5 separate regions of the Homo sapiens genome follow, and regions 1, 2, 3 and 4 are each linked to region 5. Evidence: promoter capture Hi-C in human tissues and cell types (Jung and others, 2019). All regions are on one chromosome and are shown on one strand. The core of a region is centred on a gene start or on the middle of the fragment in contact, and the rest is flanking DNA. Distances in the headings are between cores, read along the strand shown.

The links. The method cuts DNA at HindIII sites, captures the fragments that hold promoters and counts their contacts. A contact is called where the count stands out against the background at its distance.
Region 1: a fragment that was not itself captured here is called in contact with the fragment with the promoter of OTUD7A in region 5 in 2 of the 25 tissues and cell types used here (dorsolateral prefrontal cortex and lymphoblastoid cells).
Region 2: a contact is called between a fragment that was not itself captured here and the fragment with the promoter of OTUD7A in region 5, in 1 of the 25 tissues and cell types used here (dorsolateral prefrontal cortex).
Region 3: a contact is called between a fragment that was not itself captured here and the fragment with the promoter of OTUD7A in region 5, in 1 of the 25 tissues and cell types used here (dorsolateral prefrontal cortex).
Region 4: a fragment that was not itself captured here is called in contact with the fragment with the promoter of OTUD7A in region 5 in 2 of the 25 tissues and cell types used here (dorsolateral prefrontal cortex and hippocampus).

The regions. Positions count from the first base shown.
Region 1 is chr15:31,633,755-31,638,231 of GRCh38, forward strand. All of the region lies in intron 3 of OTUD7A (OTU deubiquitinase 7A), which reads right to left. Among named protein-coding and RNA genes, the nearest start is that of OTUD7A, 230 kb to the right of the region's middle. The HindIII fragment of the contact is 3,326 bases long and covers 1,255-4,477 here.
Region 2 is chr15:31,734,325-31,738,458 of GRCh38, forward strand. The region is part of intron 1 of OTUD7A (OTU deubiquitinase 7A); the gene reads right to left. Among named protein-coding and RNA genes, the nearest start is that of OTUD7A, 130 kb to the right of the region's middle. The HindIII fragment of the contact is 4,666 bases long and covers 1-4,004 here.
Region 3 is chr15:31,654,233-31,658,112 of GRCh38, forward strand. It overlaps OTUD7A (OTU deubiquitinase 7A), which reads right to left. Exons shown (of 13, transcript NM_001382637.1): 2 at 2,751-2,845; 3 at 864-1,018. The coding sequence starts at 1,014. Among named protein-coding and RNA genes, the nearest start is that of OTUD7A, 210 kb to the right of the region's middle. The HindIII fragment of the contact is 4,743 bases long and covers 1-3,880 here.
Region 4 is chr15:31,711,651-31,715,937 of GRCh38, forward strand. The region is part of intron 1 of OTUD7A (OTU deubiquitinase 7A); the gene reads right to left. Among named protein-coding and RNA genes, the nearest start is that of OTUD7A, 160 kb to the right of the region's middle. The HindIII fragment of the contact is 4,221 bases long and covers 808-4,287 here.
Region 5 is chr15:31,868,715-31,873,193 of GRCh38, forward strand. It overlaps OTUD7A (OTU deubiquitinase 7A), which reads right to left and starts at 1,959. Exons shown (of 13, transcript NM_001382637.1): 1 at 1,793-1,959. RefSeq lists a silencer at 1,922-1,991. The HindIII fragment of the contact is 13,679 bases long and covers 1-4,479 here.

The DNA of each region.
Region 1 (4,477 bases), core at 1,668-4,167, 230 kb before region 5:
AACCTGCTGGGGTGATGGCCTGGACCCCATAAAGGCTTCAGCCCTCAGAGCCCACACTCCATCTATCTTGCTCCCCACCCGCTAGCGAGCACACAGGTCCTGACGGCTCCCCTAGTCCAGCGTGCTGCCCTCTTCTCTCCGGACCTGCGAGGAACTCACTGCTTCTGGTATTTCATAGGTTTTGTTGAGTGGCCTCCTCTGTGTCTCACTCGACCGACACACCTGAACCTAACTTCTTTCCAAATTCAGAACTGTCCTAAAGAGTGGCTATCTTGGTAGGCTAAATAAATAAATACACCAGACACAGACAAGAGACTCAAGGGTGTCTAAGAGGGTAAACAAGTCTCCCAGGAGAGACCTGGGCACAGGTCAGACACAGGGATTCTGCCATCCACCAGGATAAAGAAGTACCCCGTGAAGGCACATCATAAACATGCACAACCACCTCCCCTGGAGCCCCGTCAGGGCAGGGCTGGACTTCACAGCCACTCTACAGAGAGAGGGAGACCTCAAAAGCAAACTAAAAAGAGAAAAATGCAACCCCCTCTCTCTGCCACTGCTGACAAAAGCCAGTCTATGGCAGTTTAAACACAGCAAGCAAACCAGCCATGACCTCGCGTTGGGTGTCTCCTCTTCCACGACGTTTCTCTACACACACTCTTCCCAGGGCACCTGGACCTACTCCCTGCCTTTACACAGCATACATGTCCCTGCCAGCAAGCCACAGCACGTGCTCTGTGTTCTGCCGGGATGTTCTCCACCCGTCTCCACCCACCATGCCTCTGTCTGTCAAGGCCTTCCTTCACGGAGCTCTGTGCATGCTCATGGCCGGAGTTCCCTCCTTATCCCTCAAGGCCTCCCTTCCTACAGGCTTCTCCCGGCACAGTGCCCATCTGCCCTGTATACAGCAGGCAATGTTCCTGCAGGTCTGCACCAGGGCATGAGTGCCGATGACAGCGATGGAGTCCCGTTCCCCTGTGCTTCACAGAGCAGGGGCTGCCCCACACAGAAACCGCCCAAGGCTTCCCCAGTGTCCTCGCCTCAGTCTGGGGCCCTTTTTTCCTGAAGGTTTCTATCGGGCTCTGACTGAAACCTTTAACCAAAGGGAGTGTGAAGCAGGACAGAAGGACAGCAAGCTTTCCTCAAGGTTGGGACCCTGGGGACGCAGACAGGACTCTTCCCACCTTCTGGAACCTGCCTCTGGCACCCAACCATTCCCAGTCTTACTGGATGTGACAGGAAGGAAATCAGCTCTAACTTCAGTTCCACCTTAAACTCCAAAGACACCATCAGCAAGTCCTAGGTCCTTAGTGGTTCTTGGTTTCTGCCTTCTAAAGCAAGGGGTTTGAGCCCCTCCAAGTCTGTGACTGAAGCTTTTAAACCCCAAGCAAAGCTCCATTCATAGTCCTTCTTGGCAAGTTTTGACCCACTGCTAGTCCTTCCCTATCTAGAAAGACTCTCCTTTGTTTTGACCCCAAGTAGCCCCCATTTCCTCTTAGGAAAACCTGGTACTAAATACGGCACTACCTTGGTGCTCCTGGGACCTACAGGTCACCTTGCTCACTGCCCTCAATTTTACAGATGAGAAAACAGAGCAAGAAGATCAAGAAACTTGTTGAAGATTGCACAGTAAATTAGTAAGACCTAGGGCTAGCGGAGCAAATAATATTTCCTGCCTGAAAACACAAAGACCTCCCATCCAAGCATCCTTCCCAGCAGCCAATGGAACCAGGCGGGGAGAGACCTGGGGGCAGAGAGCCCCGACACTGCCTTGCCGCTGCACTGAGGATGGCACCTGGTGCTTCCAGGGAGGGTGTATGAAGGCGCTAACTCCAACCTGGATGTTTTAGAAAGCAGACAGTGGGGCATGTACTACAACTCTCTTATTCAACATAAAAGAATGCAAATGATAAAATTCTAAGATGCCTAAGTGGGGTTTGAAAAAGTCGATGTAACTGGAGGTTAAATGTGACATGTGAAACCCACAAGCAAGTGAAGATCTGAAAACTGTCTTGTTAATTCACTTCAGGCTGCCCAGTTTTTGTAGGGACAGCTGTGGCTACAAACGGGGGCCATGTGGGAAGGGCACTCTCCCTGCACTGTCACCTGCATGCCCAGGATTGGCAAGGAGAGCCACTGCCCCCCACTTGCCAGCTGGTCTCCGGCAGCATGAAAACAGGGGGCGTGGCAGTTCCTGCCATAAAGAGGAAAATGATACACCTTATCCCAGACGCCAGGTGCTGTCTGCATCAGTCCTTTTAAAAATTTAATCGCTTTATACAATTGACACCAAATAAAATGCACATATTTAAGTTTATAATTTGAGAAGCTGACACGTGTCCATACAGACACACCTCATTTTACTGTGCTTTACTGTATTGCCCTTTGAAGATACTGCATTTTCTTTTTACAAATTAAAGGTTTGTGGCAACCCTGTGCTGAGCAAGTTTATTGGCATCATTTTTCAAACAGCATGCACTCACTGTGCATCTCTGTGTCACATTTTGGGAATTCTCACAGTATTTCAAACTTTTCCATTAGGATTATATCTGTTATAGTGATCTGTGCTCAGTGATCTTTGATGTTACTGTTGTAATTACAACAGTTCTGGTTCTGGGGCACCACGAACCACACCCACACATACCGATGAACTTAATAAACGTTGTGTGTGTTCTGACTGCTCCACTGACCAGTGATTCTCCTGTCTCCCTCTCCTCAGGCCTCCCTATTCCCTGAGACACAACATATTAAAGTTAGGCTATTAACAACCCTAAAATGTCAAGTTGTTCAAATGGAAAAAAAAAAGAATTTCATGTTTCACTTTAAATCAAAAGCTAGGAATGGTTAAGCTTAGTGAGGAAGGCATTTTAAAAGCTAAGATGGGCCAAAAGCTAGGCCTCTTACACTAAACAGTTAACTAACTTTTGAATGCAAAGGAATAATTATTGAAAGAAATTAGTAGTGCTACTCCAGTGAATACACAAATGATAAGAAAGTGAAACAGTCTTATTGCCGATACGGAGAAAGTTTCAGTGGTCTGTGGTCTGGATAGATCAAACCAGTTACAATATTCCCTTAAGCCAAAGCCTAATCCAGAGCAAGACCCTAACTCTCTTCAATTCTACGGAGGCTAAGAGAGGTGAGGAAGCTACAGAAGAAAAGTTAGAAGCTAGCAGAGGCTGGTTCATGAGGTTTAAGGAAAAAAGCCATCTTCAATAACATAAAAGTTTCATGTTATTGCACTGGGGAAGTGGCAAGTGCTGATGGAGAAGCTGCAGCAAGATCTCTAGATCTTAGAAGATCTAGCTAACATCGCTGATTAAGGTGGCTACACTATACAACAGATGTTCAATGTAGACAACACAGCCCTCTATTGGAAGAAGATGTTATCTAGGCTAGATGAGAATAAGTCTCTGCCTGGCTTCAAAGCTTCTACAGACAGGGACAATTGTAGCTGGTGACTTTAAGTTGAAACCAATGCTCATTTATCATTCTGAAAGTTCTAGTGCCCTTAAGAATGACACTAAATCTACTCTTCCTGTGCTCTATAGGAACAAAGAAGCCTGGGCACAGCACATCTGTTGATACCTTGGTTTACTGAATATTTTAAGCTCATTGCTGAGACATGCTGCTCAGAAAGAAAGATTTCTTTCAAAATATTACTGCTCATTTGACAATGCACCTAGTTACCCAAGAGCTCTGATGAAGATGTACAAGATCAATGTTTTCACGTCTGCTAATACAACATCCATTCTGTACTCCACGGATCAAGGAGCAATTTTGACTTGCAACTCTTATTACTTAAGAAATACATTTTATAAGGCTATAACTGCCATAGATAGTGATTCCTCTGATAGATCTGGGCAAAGTACATTGAAAACCTTCTGGAAAGGATTCACAACTCTAGAAGTCAATAAGAACATCTGTGATTCATGGGAGGTGGTCAAATTATCAACATTAACAGGAGTTTGTAAGAAATGGATTCCAACTCTCATGGATGACTTTGTGGGGTCCAAGACTTCAGTGGAAGAATTAACTGCAGATGTGGTGGAAGAGAACTGGAATTAGAAGTGGAGTCTGAAGATGTGACTAAATTGCTACAATCTCAAGTTGGGGAGTTGCTTCTTATGGATGAGCAAGGAAAGTGGTTTCTTGAGATGGAATCTGCTCCTGGTAAAGATGCTGTGAACACTGCTGAAATGACAAAAAGGATTTAGAAATTACAAAATGCATTTGATAAAGCAGCAGCAAGGTTTCAGAGGACTGACTTCAATTTTGAAAGAAGTTCCACTGTGGGTAAAATGCTATCAAATAGCATCACACATGCTACAGAGAAATCTTTCATGAGAGGAAGAGTCAATTAAATGCATCAAACTTCACGATTGTCTTATTTTAAGAAATTGTCACAGCCACCCCAACCTTCAGCAATCACCACCCTGATCAGTTAGCAGCCATAAACATTGAGGCAAGACCCTCC
Region 2 (4,134 bases), core at 422-2,921, 130 kb before region 5:
CTGCCCAAAGCAATTTATAAATTCAATGCTATTCCTATTAAACTACCATTGAGATTCTTCATAGAACTAGAAAAAAGTATCTTAAATTTCATATGGAACCAAAAAAGAGCCTGAATAGCCAAGATAATCATAAGCAAAAAGAACAAAGCTGGAGGCATCATGCTACCTAACTTCAAACTATATTACAGGGCTACGGTAGCCAAAACAGCATGGTACTGGTACAAAAACAGATACGTAGACCAATGGTACACAATAGAGAGACCAGAAATAAGACCGCACACCTTCAACCATTTAATCTTTGACAAACCTGACAAAAACAAGGAACGTGTAAAAGACTCTCTATTTAATAAGTGGTGCTGGGATAACTGGCTAGCCATGTATGGAAGATTGAAACTGAACCCCTTCCTTCCACCATATACAAAAATCAACTCAAGATGGATTAAAGACTTAAATGTAAAACCCAAAACTATAAAAGCTCTGGAAGATAACCTAGGCAATACCATCCTGGACATAGGTACAGGCAGAGATTTCATGATGAAGATGCCAAAAGCAATTGCAACAAAAGCAAAAATTGACAAATGGGATCTAATTAAAGAGCTTCTGCACAGCAAAAGAAACACCAACAGAGTAAACAGACAACCTACAGGATGGGAGAAAATTTCGGCAAACTGTGCATCTAACAAAGGTGTAATATCCAGTATCTATAAGGAACTCAAACAAATTTACAAGAAAAAAACCCCACTAAAAAGTGGGCAAAGGACATGAACAGACACTTCTCAAAAGAAGACATACATGTAGTCAACAATCATATGAATAAAAGTTCAATATCACTGATCATTAAAGACATGCAAATCAAAACCACAATGAGATACCATCTCACACCAGTCAGAATGGCTTTTATTAAAAAGTCAAAAAATGGCAGGGCATGGTGGCTCATGCCTGTAATCCTAGCACTTGGGGAGGCCAAGGCGGGGGTGGATCACCTGAGGTCAGGGGTTCAAGACCAGCCTGGCCAACATGGGGAAACCCCATCTCTACTAAAAATACAAAAAAATTAGTTGGGTGTGGTGGCACACGCCTGTAATCCCAGCTACTCGGGAGGCTGATGCAGGGGAATTGCTAGAACCTGGGAGGCAGAGGTTGCAGTGAGCCAAGATTGAGATTGCGCCACTGTACTACAGCCTGGGCAACAGAGTGAAACTCTGTCTCAAAAAAAAAAAAAAAGTCAAAAAATAACAGATGTTGGCAAGGTTGTGGAGAAAAAGGAACATTTATACATTGCTGGTAGGAGTGTGAATTAGTTCAACCATTGTGGAAGATAGTGTGGTGATTTCTCAAAGACCTAAACATAGAAATATCATTCAACCCAGCAACCCCATTACTGGGTATATACCCAAAGCACTATAAATCATTCTATTGTAAAGGCACATGCACCTATATGTTCATTAAAGCACTATTTACAACAGCAAAGACATGGAATCAACCTAAATGCTCATCAATAACAGGCTGGATAAACAAAATGTGGTACATAAACATCATGGAATACTATGCAACCATAAAAAAGAATGAGATCATGTCTTTTGCAGGGACATGGATGGAGCTGGAGGCCATTATCCTTAACAAACTAACGCAGGAAAAGAAAATCAAATACCACATGTTCTCACTTATAAGTGGGAGCTAAATGATGAGAATACATGGACACATAGAGGGGAACAACACACACTGGGGCCTACTGGAGGGCAGAGGGTGGGAGGAGGGAGAGGATCAGGAAAAATAACTAATGGGTACTAGGCTTAATACCTGGGAGATGAAATAATCTGTACAACAAACCCCCACAACACAAGTTTACCTTTGTAACAAACATGTGCCCCTGAACTTAAAAGTTATAAAAATAAGATTAGTAGTAATAATGATAAAAGCAGTGAACACGTTTACACTTGTAGTTGCACTAGCAATGGGTGAGGGTAACTCCACCCCCCCAAAAAAAAGATTAGCCACAGCTTGATAATTACAGAAGCTGGGTGATGGGTACATGGGACTCAGCATATTACTCTGTATATATTTATAGATGTTTAATATTTTCCATAGTTGAATGTTTAAAGATGTAAGTAAAACAAAATAAATTTAGCAGAAAACAAAAAAGAGGTGCTGTCTTAAGCTCTTCAGATATATTAACATACATCCAAACTCAAACAAGAAAACTGTAGAAAAGAATGACAGGGAGGGAGTGTACGCCTCACACTGAAGCTGTGCCGACCAATGCACTATGAGATCAATGTATGTTCCAGGTGCCATTTCCGTCCCCAGGGAAGAGTAGTTTATTTAACAGACAGAGCTGGCAGAAAACAAATCTATATCCTCCCACCCTCAACACAAATAAGTTTTGGATAAATTTAAAATATAAATGTAAAATAAAATAACCGTAAAAATATTAAAAGAAAATATATTCAAATATTTGTATGACTTTGTATTTGTATGACTTTGGCTTAAGACCTTCTTTTTTTTGGGGGGGCGGGGGGACGGAGTCTCGCTCTGTTGCCAGGCTGGAGTATAGTGGCACAATCTTGGCTCACTACAACCTCCACCTCCCAGGTTCAAGTGATTCTCCTGCCTCAGCCTCCCAAGTAGCTAGGACTACAAGCACACACCACCATGCCCAGCTAATTTTTGTATTTTTAGTAGAGGCAGGGTTTCACTGTGTTGCCCAGGCTGGTCTTGAACTCCTGGGCTCAGGCAACATGCCTGCCTCTGCCTCCCAAAGTGCTGGAATTACAGATGGCATGAAGACCTTCTTAAGCAATGTAGGATAGGTAGAAATCATAAATAAAAATAATAGAAATATTTAACCAGATAATGTTTCTTAATATGGCAAAATAAACAATATAAAAAGACATTAATATACTTAGAAAAATCGTTGAAACACATACACAGGCAAGGGACTAACAGCCCTCTAAACAAAGAACTGCTATCCACTATTGAAATAGAGACAGACAACCCCACAAAAACTCCAGCAAAAGACACGAACAAGCGGTTTACAGAAATGGAATCAAGATGGCCAGTAATGCATCAAAAAAGGTAGTCATGAAAAAACGACGCAAACTGCCAATGCCATATCATTTTCACACAAACTGGAAAAACCCTGGGGATGACATCCAGGGTCAGAGGGATTTATTGAGCACTGCATGCACTTGCATTTTGGGGGAAGATGTGAACTTCTATGCCCTTTTTGGAAAGTAATCTGGAAACGGCGATTCAAGTTCAATATCTAAGAACTTGTTGACTCAGTGGTCCCATTTTTGGAAATATATCTTACAGAAATAAGAGCAGGAGTATATTAGAAAGTGTTCAATGATATAAAGAATTTTTGAAGTGGCAGAAACTGGAGAAAGTCAGCATGCTTCTCAGCAGGAAATAACTGGATAGACTGAATGTGTTCATACGGGACTATCACACAGCATTCGAGAAAGAAATTAGACTGGATTTGCTCATCTGGAAGGACATCCATGCTGTACAGTTTCCTGAGGAAGGGAAGCTTCAGAATCATATGTATTGTAGGGAATCATGGACAGTCACTGGTTGTAAAAAAGTATCTATTTATAAAAGTGCATATTTATGTTCATAAATGTATAGGTGTAGCTGGTAGTTTGTACATAGTATCTGTTAGCTCAAGGAAGTATAAATTGGGTGGTATTATTAACATTTTTTAGCTTCTTTTCATTGTTTCACTGGCTGTAAAAATGTCACTATTTTTGCGAAAAAATTAATTGAGAGCATTTTTGTAAAAGGTTAACAGTTTGCCAGAGAAAACAAGGCAGAGAATTTCCAGGAGGGAATAATTAGTTAAATAGGAGACAGCAAAGACAGAAGAACTTGGGCATGGGGGGATGGGGAGAGAGGGAGGAGGGAGAATGGCAGGGGGCCTGGAGCTAATGATGAGGATTCCATGGGGCCAGATGAGGACCTCTGTGGATCCCTTATCTCCCATCTTTATAACTGGCATCCTAAGTGTAAAGAGGAGAGGTGAAGAATTTGGCTGAGGATGGAGACCTGAGCATGCAATAAGTCAGAATGGAAGAGAAGAAGGAACTCCAGCCACCACCATCAGCGCTGAATCTACAAAAGAGGTCCAGGGAG
Region 3 (3,880 bases), core at 682-3,181, 210 kb before region 5:
TAAACTTGGAGTTGGTTTGAAATTCTAATAGGTTGGGGAAAATTTAAAAACTATGCTTTTGCCATTGCCATTTTTTGATAATCCTCCAGTAGGTGGTTCTTAATTTTCAATATGATTGAATAGTTCTCTCCACTTCTGCAAATGTACAATAATTCTTATTTTCCCTAAGTGACTTAAAGAATCATTGTGACTTACAATTCTTGACCAAGTATTTACTAACTCCACAAATTGCAGTTTATACATTTGAAGTAAAGAGTAAACATTACAAAGTTCTCTCCTCTCACACAGCTGACTGTCCTGAGAAGTTGTAACTGGTCCCTCCCACCTTTACATACCACTGCCGCCATCAGAAAAAAAAAAGAAAGGTAAATCCATTTTAGAGACATAGAAACTACACTTTCATTTTAGTTCACTATGGTTATGGCTGAATACATATCTGAAAACATCATACATACGGAGGATGCAATTTCTCATGCAGCAAATGGTATCTACGTGAAAAGCTGGAGGATGAAGGCTGTCTTCTTGCTTGTGAATTACTCCCAGTGGCTTTCCTGGATAGTAGGTGCTTTTTCCACCAAAAACCCTGGCCTAGAGTATTTTCGTCTCCGCTAACACAGAGATATGAAACTAAGGCCTACCACAAAAGTATTTTCTTGAATGTTTTATAATTTCTGCTCCATTGAACATATTTTCTTAAATATAATAATTAGTGATAAAATTTTGACTTAATATCGGTAAGATGTAACACAAAGCAAAGCCCACTTAGTGCTCAAGTACCACTGTCATCAGGTATTGGAAATCTTCTTATTTGGAAGGTGGTTATGCCCAGAATGGTGGTGTGGGGAACAAGGAGGTGGGCTTACCTTCCAGCAGGTCTCTGGCCAGACCAGGTTCTGCCCCCGTGGACCGAACAAAGTCTGACAGGACTGCGTCCATATCAAGAGTCATAGGATCATGTAGAAGTGCTGCCCAACACTCAGCCGAGGTGGGGTTTGGAAGCACACTAGAAACCATCCATCTGCAGGAAAGAAGAGAAAGGGCATTTTACCACGTGATGGAAATGGAGCTGCAAGTGACAACTACATGCAGAGACCTGAGCGAGAGAACCCTCGAGGGTGGAGCCATTTCCACCTGCTGTCATATTTTTTAGAATTGGTTTGGTCCAACTGCCTGATTCTTCATGCAAGACATTATATTATAGAATGCTAACTAAAATTTCATCCCTGTGTACATGCCATGTGAGAGAAGGGGTATTATGAGCCAAATGTTTGTGTTCCCTCCCAAAATTCATATGTTGATATCTAATCTCCAAGGTGATGGAGAAAGACAGTGCCATCTATGAAGCAGGAAATGGGCCCTTACTAGACACCAAATCTGCTGGTTCCCTGATCTTAGACTTCCCAGCCTTTAGTACTGTGTGGAATACATTTCTGTTGTTCATAAGCCTCCCAAGCTATTGTATTTTGACATAGCAGCCCAGATAGACTAAGGCAAGGGGTCATCACTATCTCCAGCACTCCTGAACTTACATTTTATTAATTCCAATAACTGATGAGGAAAAAAGACTATTTTAAAATTTCAAACACCTAAGTATACCTAGAAAAATTCAGTTGGAGTTGCTAGATTTCTAATCCTCTTCCGAATTGTATAGACTTGTAATACTTCCACAATGTGATGAATGTTACCCACTCTATTCCAATTATGCCTTTATCAGTGTGCCATCCTACCCCCTCAGCTCTCACCCCTTACTTGGCTATTAGGAAAGACTAATAGCCAAGGTTAATCCACAGTTGACGGAAATACCACACTTGCTGAAGATGGCTACTGAACTATCTACCATCCCTCTAAGAGCTGCCATCAATCCAACAACATTCTTAAGAATGTCAGATTTCCCAGGCAGCATGATCCCAGCCAGAGAAATAGAATGGATGTACAGCAGCTTGACCCAGGCTGACTGTAGCAGCTGACTGCTGGGGAAAAGCAACTGTGACATTACAAGTGAGAGTAACTTACACTAGTGAATGGTGCTGGGGCCCCAGTGGGTGCTCAATCTTTGCCGGTGGAGTGCAAATGCATCCTTGTGTTTGTGTAGATAAGAGGTCTGCAAGTTATAGACCATGGGCCACATGTGGTCTGCCACCCATTTTTGTAAATGAAGTTTTATGGGAACACAGCCATACCCACTCATTTGCATAGCGTCTGTGGCTGCTTTTGCACCTGGCTGAGTTGAGTAGTTAAAACAGAGACCCTTAAGGTCCACAAAATTGAAAAGATGTACTTCCTGGAACTTTATGGAAAAAGCTTGCAGACCCCATTACAGGCAATGGAAAATTTTATGCTAGGAAGTATGTAATTAATTTTACATATTGTGGGGTGAGTTTGAATCCCATGCTATTGATGACTGTCCTCTGTTCTTTCTTTCACAGTAACCCACTGGGATGGGTGCTGCTTGGTGGAGTAGGTCCTGTGTCAGTGGCCCATGCTTTAGAGCCAGGCACATAGCCTGATTTGACCCTGGCCCTGCCCCTGTCCAGCTGTGACATGGGCTTCACCTCTCTGAGCCCTCCTGATTTTCTGTAGGAATGCAGGAAATGAGCTCACCTAACGTGCAAGACCCTGAGGACTGAGGGTCTCAGGCAGGGAGGTCTGTACCCTCAGAGACATTCACTGTGACCACCCCGTCTTGCACACAGCTCCTATTGGGTACAATTTTTAGTTGATGCGGCCAGAAAAGAAGAAAATTATTTGACCTGATGTATATGGTACCAATTAGGAAATTGATTTCTTCCTTCTCTCCATGCACTGGGGCCTCGGCCGGGAGAGTCTCTTCTTTCGTCACTGCCACCTGGGGGACAGATCAGAGAACAAGAGCATGTGATCTCCTTACTCTCAGACTGAGGCCGAAGGCTTGGCTTTTTGTCACAGGAGGCTGGATCTTGGCCTTGGCCAATTGCCTGAGGCATGTACTCTGTCTTCCTGGGCCCTACAGGTCCCCGCTTACCAGCTGACCAGCAACTCCCATGCCCGGGCCTGGCCAGGGGCTGTCTCAGCTTTCCTCGTTTTAGCAAGCACATCTATTTCAGTGAGGATTACTTGCACAGCACAGAGCTGTTTTTTCCTTTTCCTTTTTCTTTTTTTTTTTGAGACAGAGTCTTGCTCTGTCGCCCAGGCTGGAGTGCAGTGGCGCGATCTCGGCTCACTGGAAGCTCCGCCTCCCGGGTTCATGCCATCCTCCTTGCCTCAGCCTCCTGAGTAGCTGGGAGTACAGGCGCCCACCACCATGCCCAGCTAATTTTTTTTTTGTATTTTTAGTAGAGACAGGGTTTCACCATGTTAGCTAGGATGGTCTCGATCTCCTGACCTTGTGATCCGCTCACCTCAGCCTCCCAGAGTGCTGGGATTGCAGGCGTGAGCCACCACACCCAGCTTTCCAGATGTATTTCTTAAACCTCACACTGCCACCATCACCACACCCTCACATTCATGTCCCATGATGATATGGGAGGGACTGGGCTGGTGGGGACATTTGACCCCAGCTACCTGGGCCATCCTCACCCACTGCTCCGTGCCATCCTCCCAAGCATGCACTGTGCCTCTCAACCTGCCTTGTGTGGTCTAAAGCACTCACTCAGCCGCTTTGAACAGCATGAGGCTCTGGGTGGCCGTGCCCTGGCCCTGCATTCCTGTTCTCCTCAGTGCATCCTAGCCCTTGGACAGAATGTCTCTGAAGGTCTCATCAGCCACCCCAGGGAGAGTAATGTGTCCCATCAATGCATGGTGACTGCCTTAGGAGGGGCAGTGCCGTGTGGGGACAGAGCGTTGGCCCTGGAATCAGTCTCTGGGGCCAAAATGGTTCCACCACTTTGTGTGACCTTGGGCA
Region 4 (4,287 bases), core at 1,668-4,167, 160 kb before region 5:
AGATACTTTGCAAAACTGCACTGCTTTTAAGTTAGAGAGTTGATTCCATGTTTTATACTGAGGTTCAAAGAACATATGAAAAGAATGCATATTTGAGATTATTGGAAATAAAGGAGAAGAAATGCCTTTGATGTTTGTGTCATCTCAGATTAAGATACATCAACTGCATTACTTAAAGTGGCTTTCCCTGTGTATAAATGCTGAGTGGCTGGAAGGCCATGGCCACTTACCAGGACAATGGCCTGAAAGGTGATTTTTCCTGCTTCCTTGGCAGATGGCGGTTATTGTGTTTTTGTGTTTCTGTCTCACTTGAGCGTCTACATGGTGCAGCAATATGAAAGCTCAACTATGGCCCAGAGCACTTCTGGGCTAGTGGGAGGCTTCCCCTCACACAAGAGTGACCCTCCTGAGTGATCAGCTACCTCTGCTTAGGGCGGTGCAGAGGGTCAGTAGTTAACTGCTCAAAGGAAAACTGAAAGAGCAGGACTTTGGGGATGTAATCAAAATGCAACTTATTTACTTATTGTTTTAAATCTCTTTCTGGCCCCTTTAAAATGCATTTAGTTGAGAGAATTCCAAAGGGTCCTTCCTGGGGAAGGTGCTGTGCCTGGCATCTGTCTTCTGCTAACTGCTCTGGGGTAGTGGTGTGGAGGTGGGGGAAGGAGCATTTTGGACTGAAGGGACTGCTTCATGTCCTGTCTCGGGCTTGGGGTCCGGCCACCGGAGGAGGCTCAGCTGCTCTCCTGGGAGCCTCTTTGGAGATTTCCACGGTGGGGTCACTCACGTGCAGCATTCCTACCGCAGGCAGCTGCACGCCTCCTCTTAACAGTCACTTTCTGCAGTGTCAGCGTACTAGGCATCTGAAGTCCTCCTCTAGCTTCTTGCTACTCGGGTCCCTCTCTCCTTCCACGCTGCCCCAGTGACAGGGCCCAACACCACCCCTGCCAGCTCCCACAGGCACGGCCCATCCGGGGGCCATAATGGTCCTCACGCACTCTGACAACCGTAAGGAATGCATCCTGGTCCCTTTCCTCACTCATGAGATGCCCAGATCCAAGCATTGGCACCTTTATCTTCAACACTCTCTTGATCCTCAGCCTAAAGGCTCCAGGTGAGGGGTAGGTCACCTTCCCCAAGCCCCAGAAACAGAAGGACATTGAGTTGACAGTGGCATTCTAACAGCTTTTTCAAAAATTTCTCTTCACAGAATCCTTTCTCCTCCCTACATCTGATTCCTTCTTTATATTCTTGATCAGTTCAAGGTGTTCAAAAATGAGGGAAATGATCCTAGCTCATTCCTTCCTAACTGGGGCTTCTGGCCTGGCATCTCATTTTAGATGTGTCATCTGTTACACTTCCATATTGCTGTCAAACTTCAATACTGACATTCTGTTGCATGTGGCTTTATAGAGGTCATATTTGACAAAAATGACATTGTGGAGTATTTGAGAGAGTATTTATGTCCACAGTAAATGTGCTGAGTCCATGGGAAAGCCATATGAGAAAATCTGTCTTCTTACTTCACAGTATACATGAAAATCAACTCCAAGTTGATGGCGTTTCTGAATGTAGAGGGTAAAACAATAAATCCTCTAGAAAGCAACATGGAGGAGCATCTGCATGAACTTGGGATGGGCAGAGAGTTCTGAAACAAGATGCCAAAACTACTATTGAAATGGTAAAGTACGCTGGGCACGGTGGCTCACACCTGTGATCCCAGCACTTTGGGAGGCTGGGGCGAGCAGATCACTTAAGGTGGGGAGTTTGAGACAAGCTTGGGCAACATGGTGAAACCTTGTCTCATCTAAAAATACAAAAATTAGCCGAGTGTGGTGGTGGGCGCCTGTAGTCCCAGCTACTCGGGAGGCTGAGGCAGAAGAATCGCTTAAACCCAGGAGGCAGAGGTTGCAATGAGCTGAGATCGTGCCACTACACTCCAGCCAGGACAACAGGGAGAGACTCTGTCTCAATAACGACAACAATAAAAAACCCTAACAGATAAAGTAGATACATTAAGAACTTCTCTGCACTAGCAAACAACCTAGAGAAGGTGAAAAGCAACCTACACAGAGAGAAAACATCATTGCAATCCATAGACTCAGTAAAGGACTGGTACCCTGAATAAACACTTCAGAAGTTAATAAGAAATAAACAGTCAATTCAATAGCAAAATGGAAATATACTTGTACATACACTTCACAAGATGACATCTGAATGGCCAAAAATCAATGAAAAGTTGCTCAACCTTATTAGTCATCAGTGAAATTAAATGAAAATGAAAATTAGATACCCACCAGAATGTCTAAAATTACAAAAATTGAAAATACCGAGTGTTGGCAAAGATGTGACGCAACCAGGGCCCTCCCACGGAGCTGGTGTGAGTGTAATTAGTAAGGCAACTTGGAAAAACCGCTTGGCAGAATCTACCACAGCTCATCCTACACATCCCCTGTAAGCCAGTACTTTCAGCACTCGGTACCTACACAACCAAAATGTGTACACCTGTGCACCAAAAAATACAGGAAGTATCGCCATAGGACTAAGAACTAGAAGCAGCCCAAATGATAACCAATGGATCCACTGGACAATTGGAATATATGGATAAACTACAGTATACTCACACACGGACAAATAGTACATGAATAGCGTAGTATGAATGAATGAACTGGTGGTACACACAGCAAACATTATTTCATTCCATTCATCACACTGAGTTTAAAAATAGGCAAAACTGCAGGTGAGAGGTCAGGAGAATGGAAAGACTGAATAAAGGAGAAAGAATAGGGAGAAGGCTCAAGGGGGCAGATGCCTGCATCTCATGTTCTAGTTTTTGAGCTGGGCAGTGATTATTTAATAAAAAGGCATATTTACATTTTTTTATAATTCATGAAGTTGTACATTTGATGTGCATTTTTCTGTATGTACATTATTCTTCAATAAAAACAATGAGCCGCAAAAATCTACGGGCCATAAAACAGCCCTTATGCAAAGCTAATAAATAAGCTTGTGAAGGACTTTTCCAAATTCTGTCAGCACACATTTTTGAAAAACAGCATTACTGGCATTCAGCTGGACATTTGCTGGTGTGCTATTGATCAGTTCATTTAGTTTAAGTATTTTTACTAACATGAGCAAACCACAGTCTGCCCCTTTCTCCAATTTCTTCTCAACACAGCCACAAGAATCTTTAAAAGATGTAAATTGGCCAGGCGTGGTGGCTCACGCCTATAATCCCAGCACTTTGGGAGGCCGAGGCAGGCGGATCACCTGAGTTCAGGAGTTTCAGACCAGGCTGGCCAACATGGTGAAACCCCGTCTCTACTAAAAATACAAAAATTAGCCGGGTGTGGTGGTGGGCACCTGTAGTCCCTGCTACCTAGGGTGCTGAGGTAGGAGAATTGCTTGAACCTGGGAGGCTGAGGTTGAAGTGAGCTGAGCGCACCACTGCACTCCAGACTGGGCAACAGTGAGACTCTGTCTCAAAAAAACAAAACAAAACAAAAGATGTAAATTATGTCACATCCTACCTTGCTTGAAACCCAACAATAGCTTCCCACTGCACTGGAGTGAGACCAAACTTCTTTCCAAGCCTTCGACTGTCCTGCCTCACTTCGCTGTTCCACCTCTGCAGCTTCAGATGGCGCCTGGCTGTCCAGAACCAGCACTGCAGGCTGAGCCTTCTGTGTGCCCCACACACAGCCTGCTGCTTCCTTGGCCTCTGTGCCCTGGGACTGACTTCACCTGGAAGAGCTTCCACAGTGCTTCCCTTCCCCCTCCTTTTAGTTCAAGTGTCTGCTTCAATTTCACCACTGCTAAGAAGCCTTCTCTGACTTCCTTGCTGAACTACATTCCCCATTATTTCACTGCAGTACCAATCACTTCTTTTGTAGCACTACCATTGTCTGTAATAACACTACATACATCATCTGTCCATTCATTGATCCATCCAGCCAGTCATATATGCCATTCTGTTCCCTGGAGAATTTAAGTTCTGGGAACTTGCTTGTTTTGTCTTTTCTACCCTTGGGACCTTAGTACACAGTTCAGGGGATGCTGCAGCCACTCAGTGAAAACAAGTTGAAGAAATAAATGAAAATTATAAAGTCAACTGGCCATTCAACACATTCCTCTGCTTTATCTCTGAGCATTTCATCCTTTTCCTAACTCCAAAGTGACCCTTTCTTGAAGGGTACACTGCTATTTCCATTCAAGAAAATTCTATCGAGTCCTTCCTACAGGTGCTAGGCTGTGCGCTGTTCTGAGGGTACAATAAGAACGGGTGCTGCC
Region 5 (4,479 bases), core at 709-3,208:
GAGTTACTTTCTAAGGGAAAACCTGCCATCTATGATCCAGGCCCAAGTGAGACCCGCACGTGGCAATACTTCGTAAAGCGGCGATTTCCACCCATTATCAGCCTGAACACTAAAGGCCTAAGTAACCACTGTTTTCCCATTCTTTTCACACCAATACAGGGTTCAAGAGATTGAAGTTCCTAACCAGGTCCCAACTTTTGAGTGGCATATGGTATTAAATTCCTTACAGATCCAATAAAATCACACTAACAATTTAAGGCATGCTTATTTTAACCAATTAGGAGGTGTCATTAATTATTAAATACAAAAATGTCAATACTTTTGTCCCTTATTGGATATCCTTTCGATATGATAGGCTTGAGTAGATACTCAGATTGCCTTGGGAACTTGCTTAGTTTTGTTCCCATAAGAATTGGTACTAATGGCACACTCACAATAAAATAATGGAGTGTTGATCCCATTTAGTGGGGAATGTTTATCCAGAACTGAGTGTGCCGTGCAGATCTACCTCTGTTCTCGTGAACCCTCTTTGGGTCTTGAAGAGGCCTTTGAAGCTGGTGGGACACACGGCTGCTGGGAGGACCCTAGTGAACCTGCCTCCCCGCCTTCGCCCAGGGCAGGCTTCTCCGGGCACACCCTGGAGGAGGAGGAGGAGGATGGTGAAGGACACCTGCAGATTTTCCTGAAGCAATTAAGACCTGTAAAGATTTAGGCCCCGCTGTCAACCTTTTCCTGGACACATTATCTGCCTCATCATATTTTTAAAAATTGTTCCTCTTACAGCCCACTTCCATTTACAAAGGTATCACCTGGCGGTAACCATGTGCATGTCATACATGACTTTCCCCTGGATCCTTGTGCTGTGGATGAAGCGTTTCCCTGATCGGGGTCTCACAAGTTTCCCTTCAGCTACTCTTAAATCTATACATTCTCAAGCCAATAGACAGAAATAAAAGTCATTTGCACTTGTGTGAGGTAGCTGAGTTTACAGAGCAGAGGCAAATCCATTTTATTACAGAGATTCTCAAAGGGCTGCAATAGCTTCACCGGGAGGGAGGAGGGTACACTTGAGCGGTTGTGTCCAATGAAGGAAAGTTTTAGTTAATGATGACATCACTGACATCTCCCAAATTTAAAGGAGCACTTAAAGCACCGCAGATGCAATTTTTTCCCCTCCAGTGAGGAGATACTAGGGAAGGCCTCTGGGTTCACAGCCAAATTGCCTTAATGGTTTGCCTGCTGTCCAGCGAGACCCAGCAGAGCGAGCGGGACGGCGGTGCGCCGGGCCGCGGGGACCCACGCAGTCACAGCTCCGGTGCCCGGCGAGCGGCCTCGCGCGCGGCTCGGGGCCGGGCCCTGCCCGGCCGTCTGCAAGAGCCGCGGGACCCCCGACGCGCGCGCACGGACCGAGGGGTCGGTCGCCCCACGCCTGGCATCACGTTCCAGTGCGGACAGCCAAAGGGCTGAGCGGAGGCAGCAGCCCCGACCCAGCGGTAGCGCCGCGCCCTGCCCGAGAGAGGCGCGCCACGCCGGGCCGGAGCCGGTGGCCCGGGAGCCCGCGGGGTCCGGAGCGGAGCCCGCAATGCAGACGCGCCGGCGAGCCCAGCCGGGGCCCGCGCCCCCCGCGTCCCCGCGCCCCGGCCCCGCGGTCGCCCGGCCTCAACGCCCACCTGCCTCGCCACGGAGCTCGGGAAGGAGACGGCGCCGGCCCCGCGCCCGGAGAGCGCACCTGCCTGGTCCGCGGGCCCGGCCCCGCCGCCCGCCGGCAGCACCGCGGCCAGCGCCGTCTTACCTGCCGCGCCGCGCCGCTCCGCTCCGCCAGCCCGCAGCGCCGCAGTCGCCGCTACCCGACTTCCATTTTCTCTCGCTTTAAAGGAAAACCAGATCAGCTGTTTTGCTCCCGCTCGGGCTCCGCGGCCCCCTCCCCAGCTGCCGCTCGCGGTCCCGGTGGCCTCTCCTCCCCCGCCTCCTCCCGCGCTCCGCTCCGCCCCTCGCGCCCCTCCGCTCCGCCCGCGGCCGCGCACAACGCCCGCCTCCCGGCTCCGCCTGCTGCCTCCGGGCGCGCGCCCTCCTCTGACGTCACCGGTCGCGTTCGCGCCCCGCCCCCGCCCCGCGCGGACGTGCGCGCGCCGCGCCTGTGCCCCGCCCCCGCCCCTCCGGGGCCGGGCACGGAGAGCGCGTGCTCGCGGCCGCGAGCCGAGGAGGGGACGTACAGCGCCCGCGCGCCCGCGAGCCCGCTCCGGCTCTCCCATGCTTGCCCCTCGGGGTGCTCCTTCTGCGCTCTCCGCCTGGACTGCAGGAAAAGGCTGCTTAAACAGCCTGCCTTTTCCTGCTGCCTGACTCGCGCCATCTGCGGCCACCTGTCTCGTTTCTTCCCCCTGGCTGGCGCACCCTTCCTTCCTAAACATCCCAAACTTTCTCCCACCCAGGCTGTCCAGGCTGCAGTTTCTACGCCCTGCGCTGGGGCCTGTGCATCACGCCTAATCCAAAGCTGGTCCTTTTACCTCCCAAAAAGGTTCTCTGACCTTTTCCCATTTTTTGCCTTCCTCTAAAGACTTTTTCACGCCACCCCTTCAGATGGTTCCCCTCCCTGATGGCAAGACCTGCTCGCTGCTCTGGGCCCTTCTCACGTCACCCTGTAGATGTAGTCACGCTTCCTTATCCCAAACAGGACGTTATATTGCAGATGACCCATACCATCCTGGTGTACTTCTAAACAATCATTATTTTACTTTTAGTTTAGGACTTTTTGCTTGACTTTAAACATTGTATATGTTTAATAGTGTTTAATAATTTATTTGACTTTTAAAATTGATATTCAGTAAAATTGGTTATTTGATATATAATCCTGTGATCTTGAACCCTTGTTTGGATTCATGTAACCACTAGCGCAATAAAGAGCTCCCTAGTTCTGCCCTTTTATAACAGCGCCCCCGCCAACCCTAACTTTTGGTAACCACTGATAGGTTCTCCATTGCTACGGTTTTGTCTTTGTGAGTGTGTCGTATACATGGAATTACGCAATATGTAACATTTTGAAACTGACTTTATTCCCTCATCATTATACCTTGGAGATTCATCCATGTTATTGTGTATAGTAATAGTCCTTTTTATTGTTGAGGGGAGTCTCATTATTTGTACCACATTTTGTTTAGTCACCCACTGGAGAATATTTGCGTGGTTTCCAGTTTTTGGCGACTGTGAATAAACATTCTATAAACATTTGCATGCAGCGTTTTGTACGGACAAATTTTTTAAATTAGTTGACTAAATATCTAGGAGTGCAATTGCTAGATCTTATGGTAAATTTGTTTAACTTTATAAGAACCAAACAGTTTTCTAGAGTGGCTATAGCATTTTTATAACTGTCAGCAAATATGAATCCCTTTCCTTCATCCTCACCAGCACTTGATATTGGCTATCTTTATCTATCTATCTGTCCATCCATCCATCCATCCGTCTATCATCTATAATTTTAGACATTCTAGTAGGCATATAGTGCTATATCGTTGTTAATTTTCAATTTTCTACTGAAAAATTATGTGGAGCAACTTTTCATATGCACCTGTATATCTTCTTTGGTGAGATGTTTGTTCACATCTTTTGCCCATTAAAAAAAAAAGGTTGTTTTCTTATGGTTGAGTTTTAAGAGTTCTTTGTGTATTTTGGATAGAAGTACTTTATCTGATACGTGTTTTGCAGGTATTTTCTTCCAGTGGAAGCTTGTCTTTTCATTCTCTTAACAGTCCTGTCCTGAATTTAGGGGAAGTATCCAGTTTCTTACCACTAAATATGATGTTAGCAGTAGGATTTTTTTAGTTCTTCTTTATCAAGATTAGGAAGTTCTCTCTATTCCTAGTTTGCAGAGTTTTTATCATGAATGAATGTTGGATTTTGCCAAATTCGTTTTCTGCATCTATTGATACGGTCATGTGATTTTATTTTCTTTAGCTTGTTGATATGATGGGTTACATTGATTTTCAATTGATTTTCAAGGAACCGGTCTTGCATACTTGGGTCAAATTCTACTTGGGCATGGTATATAATTGTTTTTATACACCATTGTATTCAATATGCTAATATTTTGTTGAAGACTTTTGCATCTATGTTCATGAGAAATATTTGGCTATAGTTTTCTTTTTTGTAATGTCTTTAATTTATTTTGGTATGCCGGTAATGCTGGCCTCATAAAATGAGTTAAGAAGTAATATTTACTTGTATTTTCTGTAAGAAATTGTAAAGAACCTATATCAATTCTTCCATAAATGTTTGGTAAAATTCCCTGGTGAAACCATCTGAATCTGGTGATTTTTTTGAGACTTCATTAATTATTGATTCTTTGTGGATACAGAGCTATTAGGTGATCTGTTTGCTTTTCTGTAAAATGTAGTTGTATCATTCAAGGAATCGGTCCTTTTTATCTAATATTCAAACTTGTGGGTGTAAAGTTGTTCATCATAAACCTTTATTATTCTTTTA